Linked DNA regions of Homo sapiens: regions 1 and 3 are each linked to region 2. The links are contacts of gene promoters, found by promoter capture Hi-C in blood cells and fetal thymus (Javierre and others, 2016). All regions are on one chromosome and are shown on one strand. Each heading gives the region's core, a stretch centred on a gene start or on the middle of the fragment in contact. The rest is flanking DNA. Distances are from core to core; before and after follow the strand shown. Region 1 holds the start of RELA (RELA proto-oncogene, NF-kB subunit). Region 2 holds the start of TIGD3 (tigger transposable element derived 3). Region 3 overlaps SNX32 (sorting nexin 32).

The links. The method cuts DNA at HindIII sites, captures the fragments that hold promoters and counts their contacts. A CHiCAGO score of 5 or more calls a contact.
Region 1: a contact is called between the fragment with the promoter of RELA here and the fragment with the promoter of TIGD3 in region 2, in 1 of 17 cell types (neutrophils). The highest score is 6.5, in neutrophils.
Region 3: a fragment that was not itself captured here is called in contact with the fragment with the promoter of TIGD3 in region 2 in 1 of 17 cell types (neutrophils); the score reaches 5.5 in neutrophils.

Annotation. Positions count from the first base shown.
Region 1 is chr11:65,660,562-65,664,165 of GRCh38, forward strand. It overlaps RELA (RELA proto-oncogene, NF-kB subunit), which reads right to left and starts at 2,355. Exons shown (of 11, transcript NM_021975.4): 1 at 2,265-2,355; 2 at 1,618-1,644; 3 at 1,376-1,527; 4 at 1,126-1,274. The coding sequence starts at 2,271. RELA-DT (RELA divergent transcript) reads left to right here and starts at 2,445. Exons shown (of 4, transcript NR_183625.1): 1 at 2,445-2,587. RefSeq lists silencers at 2,042-2,101, 2,162-2,571 and an enhancer at 2,662-2,861. The HindIII fragment of the contact is 22,197 bases long and covers 1-3,604 here.
Region 2 is chr11:65,353,387-65,357,500 of GRCh38, forward strand. It overlaps TIGD3 (tigger transposable element derived 3), which reads left to right and starts at 1,365. Exons shown (of 2, transcript NM_145719.3): 1 at 1,365-1,571; 2 at 2,407-4,114. The coding sequence starts at 2,423. The coding sequence ends at 3,838. It overlaps DPF2 (double PHD fingers 2), which reads left to right. Exons shown (of 11, transcript NM_006268.5): 11 at 1-876. RefSeq lists silencers at 1,093-1,152, 1,243-1,562, 1,583-1,642, 1,653-1,822, 1,883-2,072. The HindIII fragment of the contact is 1,484 bases long and covers 961-2,444 here.
Region 3 is chr11:65,842,874-65,846,952 of GRCh38, forward strand. The region is part of intron 1 of SNX32 (sorting nexin 32); the gene reads left to right. Among named protein-coding and RNA genes, the nearest start is that of SNX32, 11 kb to the left of the region's middle. The HindIII fragment of the contact is 8,144 bases long and covers 1-4,079 here.

The DNA.
Region 1 (3,604 bases), core at 1,105-3,604, 310 kb after region 2:
TCAAGTCTTAGCTGAGGGAGGCCTTCCCTGACCTCCCAATCTAAAGTCATCACACACCAGCTCCCCTAACTCCCCCACCCCAGGTTATCCTTCTATCCTATGACCTCGTTTTATTTTCAGGACTGAAACTGTTACTCTGACAGCACCTTGTTTATTTATCTGTGTATTTATTTATTTTTAAGAGACACAGTGTCGGGCCGGGTGCGGTGGCTCAAGCCTGTAATCCCAGCACTTTGGGAGGCCAAGACAGGCAGATCACAAGGTCAGGAGATTGAGACCATCCTGGCTAACACGGTGAAACCCTGTCTCTACTAAAAAATACAAAAAATTAGCCAGGCGTGGTGGCAGGCACCTGTAGTCCCAGCTATTCGGGAAGCTGAGGCAGGAGAATGGCATGAACCCGGAAGGTGGAGGTTGCAGTGAGCTGAGATCGCGCCACTGCACTCCAGTCTGGGGACAGAGCAAGACTCTTTCTTAAAAAAAAAAAAAAAAAAAAAAAGACAAGGTATCGCCCTGCCACCCAAGTGCAGTGGTGCAATCATAGCTTGCCGCAGCAGTGACCTCCTGGGCTCAGGCGATCCTCCCACCTCAGCCTCCCTGGGACTATAGGCGCATGCCACCATACCCAGCTAATTTCTTATTTTTTGTAGACATGGGGTCTCACTATGTTGCCTTGGCTAGTCTTGAATTCCTAGGCTCAAGAGATCTTCCTGCCTTGGCCTCCCGAAGTGCTAGGATTATAAGCATGAGCCACTATGCCCGGCCTGTATATTTTTTTACAGCCTGTCTCTGTCAACTGCAATGTCAACTCCAGGGGAGAGTGCTGGTTCAATGGTTTTCTTCCTCAAACAAGAGACGTGACTCTGAGGGACTTGTCCTTCCAGCTACAGGGGTCAGGAATTCAGAAGTGATTAGGGACCCATCCGTATCCCCTGGAACTCATCTGCTAGAGTAAACGTACAAATAGATAATTTCAAGACAAAGGCAGTTTACTTGCAGAGCTGAGTCAGGGCAAGGAGTGAGGAATTCTGCCCTGGGTCCAGAAAGGAGTAACACTGTAGCGGCTACTTCATAGCCCGCCTCCTGTCCCCTCATGCTGGGCCTCCTAGCCTGCAGGGACCTCACCTGTGGATGCAGCGGTCCGGGCAGAGCTCAGCCTCATAGAAGCCATCCCGGCAGTCCTTTCCTACAAGCTCGTGGGGGTGAGGCCGGTGAGGAGGGTCCTTGGTGACCAGGGAGATGCGCACTGTCCCTGGTCCTGTGTAGCCATTGATCTGTCCAAAGTACAGAGGCCCAGACATCCAAACCTGACTCCCAAACACAGAGGGCTGGGGTTCCACAGTCCCTTCCCCGCACACCCTGGCGCAGTGCTGACCTTGATGGTGGGGTGGGTCTTGGTGGTATCTGTGCTCCTCTCGCCTGGGATGCTGCCCGCGGAGCGCCCCTCGCACTTGTAGCGGAAGCGCATGCCCCGCTGCTTGGGCTGCTCAATGATCTCCACATAGGGGCCAGAGGCCTGGGCTGGCTCTGCCAGGGGACACCGCAGCCCCATTAGGCGGCTGCCCCCACTGCCCTACCCCAGGGAGCACCTCCCCGACCGCCGCGGGGGCCACTTACCTGCCGGGAAGATGAGGGGGAACAGTTCTGAAAGGGGAGGGAGATCAGGGTCAGCACACACCCAATGCCCATTCTCACAAGGAGGAATCTGCTCTCCACGGAGAGGAGAAGCCAGGCTCCCTCCCAGGGGAACTGAGTCAGGACCTGCTCCCTAGAACCTGCGGTGAAACTAAGGGGTGGAGGAAAGGAACCAGAAACACCTGCTTCTTGAGGGAAAACGGGGTAAGGAATCCTTCTTCTCCAGAGGGAAGCTGAATCAGGGCCTGTTGTACTTTCTTAAGGAAAATTGAGGGAGGGCACGCCCCACCTCCCTCCAGAGAGGAAACTGAATCAGATGCGTTCTCCCCTAATAGGGAAACGAAGCCAGAGCTGCCCCCATGGACGGTGTGGAGGGAAACTGAGTCAAGGTTCCCTCTGCTCCCCCACCCAGGGAGGATGCTGAGTCAAGGGCCACCCCCTCCACCCAGAGGGGAAACTGAGTCAGACCCCTCCCCGCCTGCCCCGCCCCGCGCCACCATCCGGCAGGCCGACCGCTCCCTGCGCAGCGCCCGTCGGCGCAGGAAGGGGCGGAAAGCGGCGCGGGGGCTCCCGCCACAGCCGCGGCGGCCCCGGCGATGCCACCCCGCGGGGTCAGAGGGCGACCTCACCGTCCATGGCCGGGGTCCCGGGGGCGGGGCCGGGGTCGCAGCTGGGCCCGCGGCGTGCACTACAGACGAGCCATTCGCCAGAGGCGGAAATGCGCCGCGCGGCCCGCCGTCGCGTCACTGCCCGGAATCCGGCCGCGCCTGCGCGCTGCCCCGCCGCCGCCCGGCGCAGGGGCCGGGAGCAAGTGCACGCCGCGCGGAGGACGAAGAGGCTGCACGCACAGCCGCTGCCGGGGGTCGGGGCCAAGTGCGCGCCTCGCCGAGGACGAAGAGGCTGGCGTGCCCGGTGGCTCGGCTAGCTCCCGGGTCCCGGCCCCGCCTGGAGGGTGGGTCCGCCGATTACTCACTTTGTTTTTAGGGGATTTCAGGGCCCCCTCCCGCCGATCGGCGGAGTTTGGTGATGTCACTCTGGGCCGGGTCTGGAGCAAAGCCAGGGCTACTGGGCTGCGGCCGCCCGCCCCGCGCAGGGAAAAGCCCGACCGGGCCTTCTGCTCCGCAGAGGCCGGGTGGTTGAACTCCGCGCGGGTTTCCTAACCGCTAAAGGTGCCTTTCGGTGGTGGCTGTCTCAGAAGCACGTTAAAATGTCCTACCCACCCCAATCTAGATGCGGCTGTGGGGGAATGGGAGCGGCCGGACCTCCCAGCCTGACAGTGCATCAAGAGCTTTGCGGAGCCTACAGCCCGGATGGGACGACTGAGGCCCTCCCGCTGGCGAGCTGGCCGAGGGCTCGTCCCTCTCCAGCTAAAGCGCCAGCTTACGATACAGCCAAACTGCCGGCTCTCATCGGCTGTGGGAGCAGGAGGCCCCCAGGGGTAAATCCCGGAGCCTCGTCTCTGAAGCCTGGCGCTTGTGTCTCAGAAGGTGCGGGACCCACAGGGACACTTGAATCAGCAGGCTCACGACCCCCCACCCCCCTGCCCCCGCCTGTGTTTGCCCTGGACCTCCAGCTAGGGCTGACCACTAATTCTGTCATGTGACCCCACAGTGCAGGTAGCTCCCCCAAGACCAAGCCCAAGGCGCGTCCGTGTGGAGGCTGGGGCTGACGCACCCCCACCCCAGGCCTCATCCCCAAAGGAGGATGCTCCACTGCAGGGGGCGGAGTCTTCTCCAGATGGAGAAAGACTTTTTTATTTTCTCTGAATTCGTCTTAAATTAGGAAATCATGTGGGAATTGGAAAAGATTGGAAATTCTGACTTGTTTCCCAGGCTCTGAAGAAACAGGAAGAGAAAAGTGAAAATAGAGTTAGCACCCCGCCCACTCATTTCAGTTTCTCCAGTGGCTGGCCCTGATTAGAAAAGTGTTTACTTTTGGCAGGGGGCGGGGGAGGCCGACTTCAGGTGAC
Region 2 (4,114 bases), core at 115-2,614:
AATATAATTAATAAGCAAACTAATGACATCACCATGGGACACACACAAAAGTTCTTGCAGGAGCAGGGTCTGTGTGGCTTCAGTTGCCTGCAGCGCTCCCAGGCCAGAGCAAGTGCTCTAGGATCTGAACTGCCCGCAGTGCAGCCCTGCAGCCTTTCCCAGGGCACGTTGATGTGCACACAGTTTCCCTGAAGGCAAAGTGAACATGTGGAGAGCTTACGTGGCAGCGCGTATGTCTTCAGTGTGTGTTTTAGAAGTCCAACTGTTGTTTTTATGTTTTTAAAGGAAAGATTTGAATCAAGCAGTTATGGGCCCCCTGAAGTATCCTTTTTTCTAGAACATTCTGAAAGTCATCCTTGCCTATGGGAAGCCTAGGCCGGCCTGCACTGTTATGTTCAATAAATAAGCAGGGTGCTCTGGGCTGGGGATTGTGTGAGGAGCAGAGCGCAGCCCGTCCTCATGCTTTTCCACTGAAGTAGGCCAGGCAGAGAGGGAGTACAGCAATGGATGCGCTTTGGCAGCTGAGTAGTCCGAGAGCCAGAAAAGAAATGTGGAAAATAAGAACGCTGTAGCAGGCCTAGGTGAGGAAATTTAGGAAGGGTTTGCGGGAGGTAGGATTTGAGATGGGTCTTGGAGAGTTGGACAGTGTCAGCCGGTAGGACGGGGGTGCGGACGGAAGCCTGTGAGGAAGGCAGAGGATGCGGAGCTGTGAGCGGAGGGAGCAGCGAGGCTGGAGAGCAGCTGGGCTGCGGGTCAAGACGTCTGCGTTTAATTCGGGACTGAAGGTTAGCAGGGAAGGGAACGATGCCAGATCTTGAGTTTAAGAACTTGAATCTTGTAAAGTACCAAATCTAATAAAATACTCGTCCTAAATCATTACTGGCCCAAGCATGCAGTGTTTCCGTGGCCGACAGACTCGAGCCAGCGCTGTCCATGGTAACCAGCTTTTGTGTGGCTTAAAGCTTGCATCCATTTTCTCCTTTCATCGTTTTCCCAAAACAATTCCGTGAGGGCTGTTAGCCCTGCTTGGTAGACGAAGAAGCCGATGCGGTCTAGGGTCACGGCCAGGGAGGCTTTGGGACGCCAAGTCAGCTCGGCGGTCACCACACCACCTACAGGGCTCGTCGGGCCCTCGGGGTCGGCGGCTGCTGGAGGCGCCCAGGGGAGTCCTGCTGGTTCCTGGCTCCGCCTCCCGCCCCTCCGCGCTAGAAGCCCCGCCCCCAGAGGGGCTCGACGAACCGCCACTTCCGCAACGTCCAATGAAACTTAGCCGGGGGAGGGACGGGGCGCCACTGAGGACCAATCTGCTTGGGCCGGGGCGGGGCTGCGGCGGGTGGGTGCAGAGGGGCCGCACCGCGGACTTCGCAGCCGGGAGAGAGCCCGGCGCGGGCGGCGCGCACGGGACTCTGCTGTGCGCGCGCCCGCCCGCCCGCCGTCCGCGCAGGCCCTCGGTCCGCTCTGCCCTCGGGGTCGTGGCGCCCATCCCTCCCCTGTTCTGCTGTCGCCGCCCGGACAGGGGCTCGGGAGCCGGGCTGGGGGCAGGGGCTGGAGCCGCGGGACCAGCGCCTGAGGTGGGTGCGGAGCGGGAGGCCGGGCGGGCGGGCGCCTGGGGCCGCCCCGCCGACATACTCCGGGTCGAGGGGGAGTGACCGGCCAGGGCACGGAGTCCGGCTGCCGGCCTGCCTGGGTCCGGGCGTTCGTTCCCGCGCCCTGGGACCCTCCCAGGCCACCACCCTCCCCGCGGGGACACCCCGCCCCTCCGCTGCCCGCAGCCTCCTCAGGCCTCCCGCCCTTTGTCGCTCGTGCACCTGCGCCCTCGGCCCTGCCCTCTCGCTCCCCTCAGGACTGACCGTCGCCTAGCCTCCCTCTCAGGACCCGGCACCAAATTAGCCTCGCTCCTTCAGACACCCTCTGTCCCCTTTGTCGTCTGTACACCTGTCACCTCAACTCTGTGTGCATCCACCCACCTCCCACCCCCCAGCGGCGTCATCTGAATCCAGCCCAAGCCGCCTCCCACTCCCTCCCGGGGGCTCCTCCCCCGCAGCCCCGTAGCCCCACACCTGCCCCCTCGGCCCCAGTCCCAGGCCCTCCCCCGTCCGTATGCCTTTGTTATCTCTGCAGCTGTCCCCTGCACTTTTCATCCTTCTTCCCGAGTGAGGCCAGACCCCAGCCCAGACTCCCCTGTCCTTCTGAGTGGAGAGACGCCCCCTCCCCAGCTCTGCCCTGGCATCCTGGGGACGGGGCCAGCCGGCTTCCACTCGGCCTAGCCACTTCCTCTTTCAGCGGGTCCAGTCTCACCCGGTGCCTGCGCAAGTCCTCATCTAATCTCTTTTCCCTCCTGCGCTCCTTTCCTAGCTCTTCCGGCCTCAGATTACTCTACCCGCTCAATCTTTCCTCCCCGCACAGGTGCCCCGGAGAGGCCATGGAGCTGAGCAGCAAGAAGAAGCTTCACGCCCTGTCCCTGGCCGAGAAGATCCAGGTGCTGGAACTCCTGGATGAGTCCAAGATGTCCCAGTCGGAGGTGGCCCGGCGCTTCCAGGTTTCCCAGCCCCAGATCTCGCGCATCTGCAAGAATAAGGAGAAGCTGCTGGCGGACTGGTGCAGCGGCACAGCCAACCGAGAGCGCAAGCGCAAGCGGGAGTCCAAGTACAGCGGGATCGACGAGGCTCTGCTCTGCTGGTACCACATTGCCCGGGCCAAGGCCTGGGACGTGACGGGGCCCATGCTGCTCCACAAAGCCAAGGAGCTGGCCGATATCATGGGCCAGGACTTCGTGCCCAGCATCGGCTGGCTGGTCCGCTGGAAACGCCGAAACAACGTCGGCTTTGGGGCCCGCCATGTTCTTGCGCCTTCATTCCCCCCTGAGCCACCTCCCCCGGGGCTCACATCCCAGGCTCAGCTGCCTCTTTCCCTAAAAGACTTCTCTCCAGAGGACGTGTTTGGCTGTGCTGAATTGCCCTTGCTGTATCGGGCAGTGCCCGGCAGCTTTGGTGCATGTGATCAAGTACAGGTGCTGCTGTGTGCCAACAGCAGGGGCACCGAGAAGCGGCGGGTACTGCTGGGTGGGCTCCAGGCTGCCCCGAGATGCTTCTTTGGGATCCGCAGTGAGGCTCTGCCTGCCTCCTACCACCCGGACCTGGGCATCCCCTGGTTAGAGTGGTTGGCACAGTTTGACCGGGACATGGGACAGCAGGGCCGACAGGTGGCTTTGCTGCTGGCTGCCCGAGTGGTGGAGGAGCTGGCAGGCCTGCCTGGGCTCTACCACGTGAAGCTCTTGCCTCTGGCCGCCTCTAGCACCACGCCTCCCCTGCCCAGCTCAGTGGTCCGGGCCTTTAAGGCCCATTACCGACACCGGCTGTTGGGCAAACTGGCTGCCATCCAAAGCGAGAGGGATGGCACCTCGCTGGCCGAGGCCGGGGCAGGCATCACCGTGCTGGACGCCCTGCACGTGGCGTCTGCCGCCTGGGCCAAGGTGCCTCCTCAGCTCATTTTCAGCAGCTTCATTCAAGAAGGGCTGGCTCCCGGCAAAACGCCCCCGTCCTCGCACAAAACCTCTGAGATGCCACCAGTCCCCGGCGGGCTGAGCCTGGAGGAGTTTTCCCGCTTTGTGGACCTGGAGGGTGAGGAGCCAAGGTCTGGAGTATGTAAGGAGGAGATAGGCACTGAAGACGAGAAGGGGGACAGAGAGGGTGCCTTTGAGCCCCTGCCCACCAAAGCTGATGCCCTCCGGGCCCTGGGCACCTTGAGGAGGTGGTTTGAATGCAACAGCACTTCTCCTGAGCTATTCGAAAAATTCTACGACTGTGAGGAGGAGGTGGAGCGGCTTTGCTGCCTATGAAGGCGCCTTCACTGCTTGCCAGAGCCCCTTCCTCTCTTGTTTCCCATGGAAACGGCCTCTTCAGAAGGCAGATCGGGCTGTCTCTTTCCTGTGGAAATAGAACTGTCGTAAAGGTGTAGAAGGGAGAGAAGTTGGGACACCAAGTCTGAGCTTGGAGTGGCAGTCGTCCAAACCCCAGGAAGAGAGCTCTAAAGATGGGGCTTCGGGGGTAGGAATCCAGGATGCTTAGTTTCTAGACCCTGCTTGAAAGTTCTAGAGCCTTTGAAAGGGAGTTAG
Region 3 (4,079 bases), core at 228-2,727, 490 kb after region 2:
TGGGAGGCGGAGGTTGCAATGAGCCGAGATCCGCCATTGCACTCCAGCCTGAGCAACAAGAGCGAAACTCCATCTCAAAAAAAAAAAAAAAAAAAAAAAGAAACACTTTGGGAGGCCGAGACCGGGGGATCATGAGGTCAGGAGATCGAGACCATCCTGGCTAACATGGTGAAACCCCGTCTCTACTAAAAATACAAAAAATTAGCTGGGCGTGGTGGGCACCTGTAGTCCCAGCTACTAGGGAGGCTGAGGCAGGAGAATGGCTTGAACCCAGGAGGTGGAGCTTGCAGTGAGCCGAGATTGCGCCAGTGCACTCCAGCCTGGGCGACAGAGCAAGACTCCGTCTCAAAAAAAAAAAAAAAAGAAAAAGAAATTAAAATTAAAATGAAGAAAATGAATTGAAAATAGATCATAGCCAGGTAGGGTGGCTCATGCCTGTAATCCCAGCACTTTGGGAGGCCAAGGAGGGTAGATCACTTGAGGTCAGGAGTTTGAGACCAGCCTGGCCAAAAGAGTGAAACCCCATCTCTACTAAAAATACAGAAATTAGCCAGGCGTTGTGGCGGGCACCTGTAATTGCAGCTACTCAGGAGGCTGAGGCAGGAGAATCACGAACCTGGGAGGCGGAGGTTGCAATGAGCCAAGATCGTGCCACTGCACACCAGCCTGGGCAACAGAGCAAGACTCTGTCTCAAAAGAAAAAGAAAAAGAAAAAGAAAATGGATTATAGATACAACTGCAAGAGCTTAAACTGTAACACCTCTAGAAAAATAAATAGAATATCTTCATGACCTTGGGGTAGGCAAAGTTTTCTTTAACAGGACACAAAAAGCCTTAACCATAGACATAAAAGACTGTTATGTTGAGCTTGTAACATTTGAACCATTAAGAGTCAAAGGCAAACTATAGACTAGGAAAAGATACTGACAAAAGGTATAATCAACAATGGGTTTGTCTCCAGCAACAGTTCCTACAAATTACTGAAAAACAGATAATCTGATCTTTCAAAGAGGTGGCAGGAAAGAATCAGAGACCTGAATAGGCACTTTACAAAAGAAGATATGCAGATGGCTGATAAATACAGAAAATGCCGCTCAACATCATTCCTCACCAGGTAATACCAGTTACACTCCCCATGCGCAATTACCATGCCTGGACTAACAGGGTGAAAGTAAAAAAGACTAACAATTCTGAGCTGTCACAGTGGTTTGTGCCCAGACTGATCTATATATTCGATGCAATCACAATCAAAATCCCAGTATGTTTTTCAGGGGTAGAAATGTAAAGGACCTATAATCACCCAAATGATTCTGAAAAAAAAGAATAAAGGTGGAGGCCTTGCACTATCTGATTTCCAGTCTCACCTGTTAGATTACAGTAATCAGTCCAGTGAGATATTATCATAAGGACAAACATAGACCAATGGAACAGAGAGTCCAAAGTTTATCATACTTAATAGGTCAATTGATACGTGTACACAAAAGCAGCTCTCAGCTACTCCAGAGGATTGCCTGAGCCCAGTTCAAGGCCAGCCTGGACAACATTAGCAGGACCCCTTTTCTTTAAAAAAAAAAAAATAATAAATAGAGAGAGAGAGAGATAAAATGACTAACGACTCTGTGGCAAAGATGTAGTACAACTGGAACTTTCATACACAGTGCTGCTGGGAGTGTACATTGGTTTAGTCACCTTAGAAAACCGTTTGGCAGTATTTACTAAAGTGTTTTAAACATACAATATGTCTTCCCTGTAACTAAGCAATTCTCATGCCCAACAGAAATGGGGACTTAGGTCAAAAGTCCTCAAAAGACGGCTGGGCGTGGTGGCTCACATCTGTAATCCTAGCACTTTGGGAGGCCGAAGCGGGCAGATCACTTGAGGTCAGGAGTTCAAGAGCAGCCTGGCCAACATGGCGAAACCCCATCTCTACTAAATTACAAAAATTAGCCAGGCGTGGTGGCGGGCACCTGTATCCCCAGCTACTCAGGAGGCTGAGGCAGGAGAATCACTTGAACCTGGGAGGCGGAGGTTGCTGTGAGCTAAGATCACGTCACTGCACTCCAGCCTGGGTGACACAGCAAGACTCTGTCTCAAAAAAAAAAAAAAAAGTCTTCTAAAGACCTGTGTAAGAATGTTCATGGAAGCCAGACATGGTGCTGCACACTTGTAATCCCAGCTACTTGGGAGGCTGAAGTGGAAGGATGGCTTGAGGCCAGGAGTTCAACCAGCCTGGGCAGCATAGCGAGAACACCCCCCTGCTTTAAAAAAAAAAAAAAAAAAAAAAGGCTGGGTGTGGTGGCTCACTCCTGTAATTCCAGCACTTTGGGAGGCCGAGGCGGGCGGATCATGAGGTCTGGAGATCGAGACCATCCTGGCTAACACAGTGAAACCCCGTCTCTACTAAAAAATACAAAATTAGCTGGGCGTGGTGGTGTATGACTGTAATCCCAGCTACTAGGGAGGCTGAGGCAGGAGAATGGCATGAACCCGGGAGGCGGAGGTTGCAGTGAGCTGAGATCGTGCCACTGCACTCCAGCCTGGGCAACAGAGCAAGACTCCATCTCAAAAAAAAAAAAAAAGTAACCGGTTGCAGTGGCTCACGCCTGTAATCCCAACATTTTGGAAGGCCAAGGTGGGCGGATCACCTGAGGTCAGGAGTTTGAGACCAACCTGGCCAACATAATGAAACCCCGTTTCTACTAAAAATGCAAAAAATTAGCCAGGCATGCTGGCCCATGCTTGTAATCCCAGCTACTCAGGAAGCTGAGGCAGGAGAATCGCTTGAACCAGGAGGCAGAGGTTGCAGTGAGCCGAGATCTTGCCATTACACTCCAGCTTGGTCAACAAGAGCAAAACTCCATCTCAAAAAAAAACCAACAAAAAACTGTTCATGGCAGCTTTATTCATAATAGCCAAAAACTTGAAATAATCCAAATGACCATCAACAGTAGATACATACATTATGATATAATCATGTAATGAAATAAGACACAGCAATGAAAATAACTGCTTCTCCACTCAACAACGTAGAGAGCTCTCTAAAGAACAGGGGCACAAAAGAATACACAATGCATAATTGCATTTCTGTGAAGTTCAAGAATAGGCAGGCCAGCATAGGCTGGGCTCAGTGGCTCACACCTGTAATCCCAGTTCTATGGGAGGCCAAGGTGGGTGGATCACCTGAGGTCAGGAGTTCAAGACCAGCCTGGCCAACATGGTGAAACCCCGTCTCTGCTAAAATACAAAAATTAGCTGGACGTGGTGGTGGGCGTCTGTAATCCCAGCTACTTGGGAGGCTGAAGCAGGAGAATCCCATAAGCCTGAGTGGTAGAGGTTGCAGTGAGTTGAGATCATGTCACTGCACTCCAGCCTGGGCGACAGAGTGAGACTTCGTCTCAAAAAAAAGAATAGGCCAGGACGGGTGCGGTGGCTCACGCCTGTAATCCCAGCACTTTGGAGGCCGAGGCGGGCGGATCACCTGAGGTCAGGAGTTCCAGACCAGCTTCAACAAGGAGAAACCCCATCTCTACTAAAAATACAAAATTAGCTGGGCGTGGTGGTGTATGACTGTAATCCCAGCTACTCGGGAGGCTGAGGCAGGAGAATTGCTTGAACCTGGTAGGCAGAGGTTGCAGTGAGCTGAGATCGTGCCATTGCACTCCAGCCTGGGCAACAAGAGTGAAACTCTGTCTCGAAAAAAAAAAAAAAGAATACGCCAGAATAATCTATGGTGATAGAAGTCAGAATGGTGGTTAGTTCTGGGGTGGGAGATAATTGATGGGTGTGGGGCAAGAAGGAGCCTTCCGGAGTGTTTAAAAAAATGTTTTTTGCCAGGCACGGTGGCTCACGCCTGTAATCCCAGCACTTTGGGAGGCCAAGGCGGGAGGATGACCTGAGGTCAGGAGTTCAAGACCAGCCTGACAAACATGGAGAAACCCCATCTCTACTAAAAATACAAAATTAGCTGGGCGTGGTGGCGGGCGCCTGTAATCCCAGCTACCTGGGAGGATGAGGCAGGAGAATCGCTGGAACCCGGGAGGCGGAGGTTGTGGTGGGCTGAGATTGCACCATTGCACTCC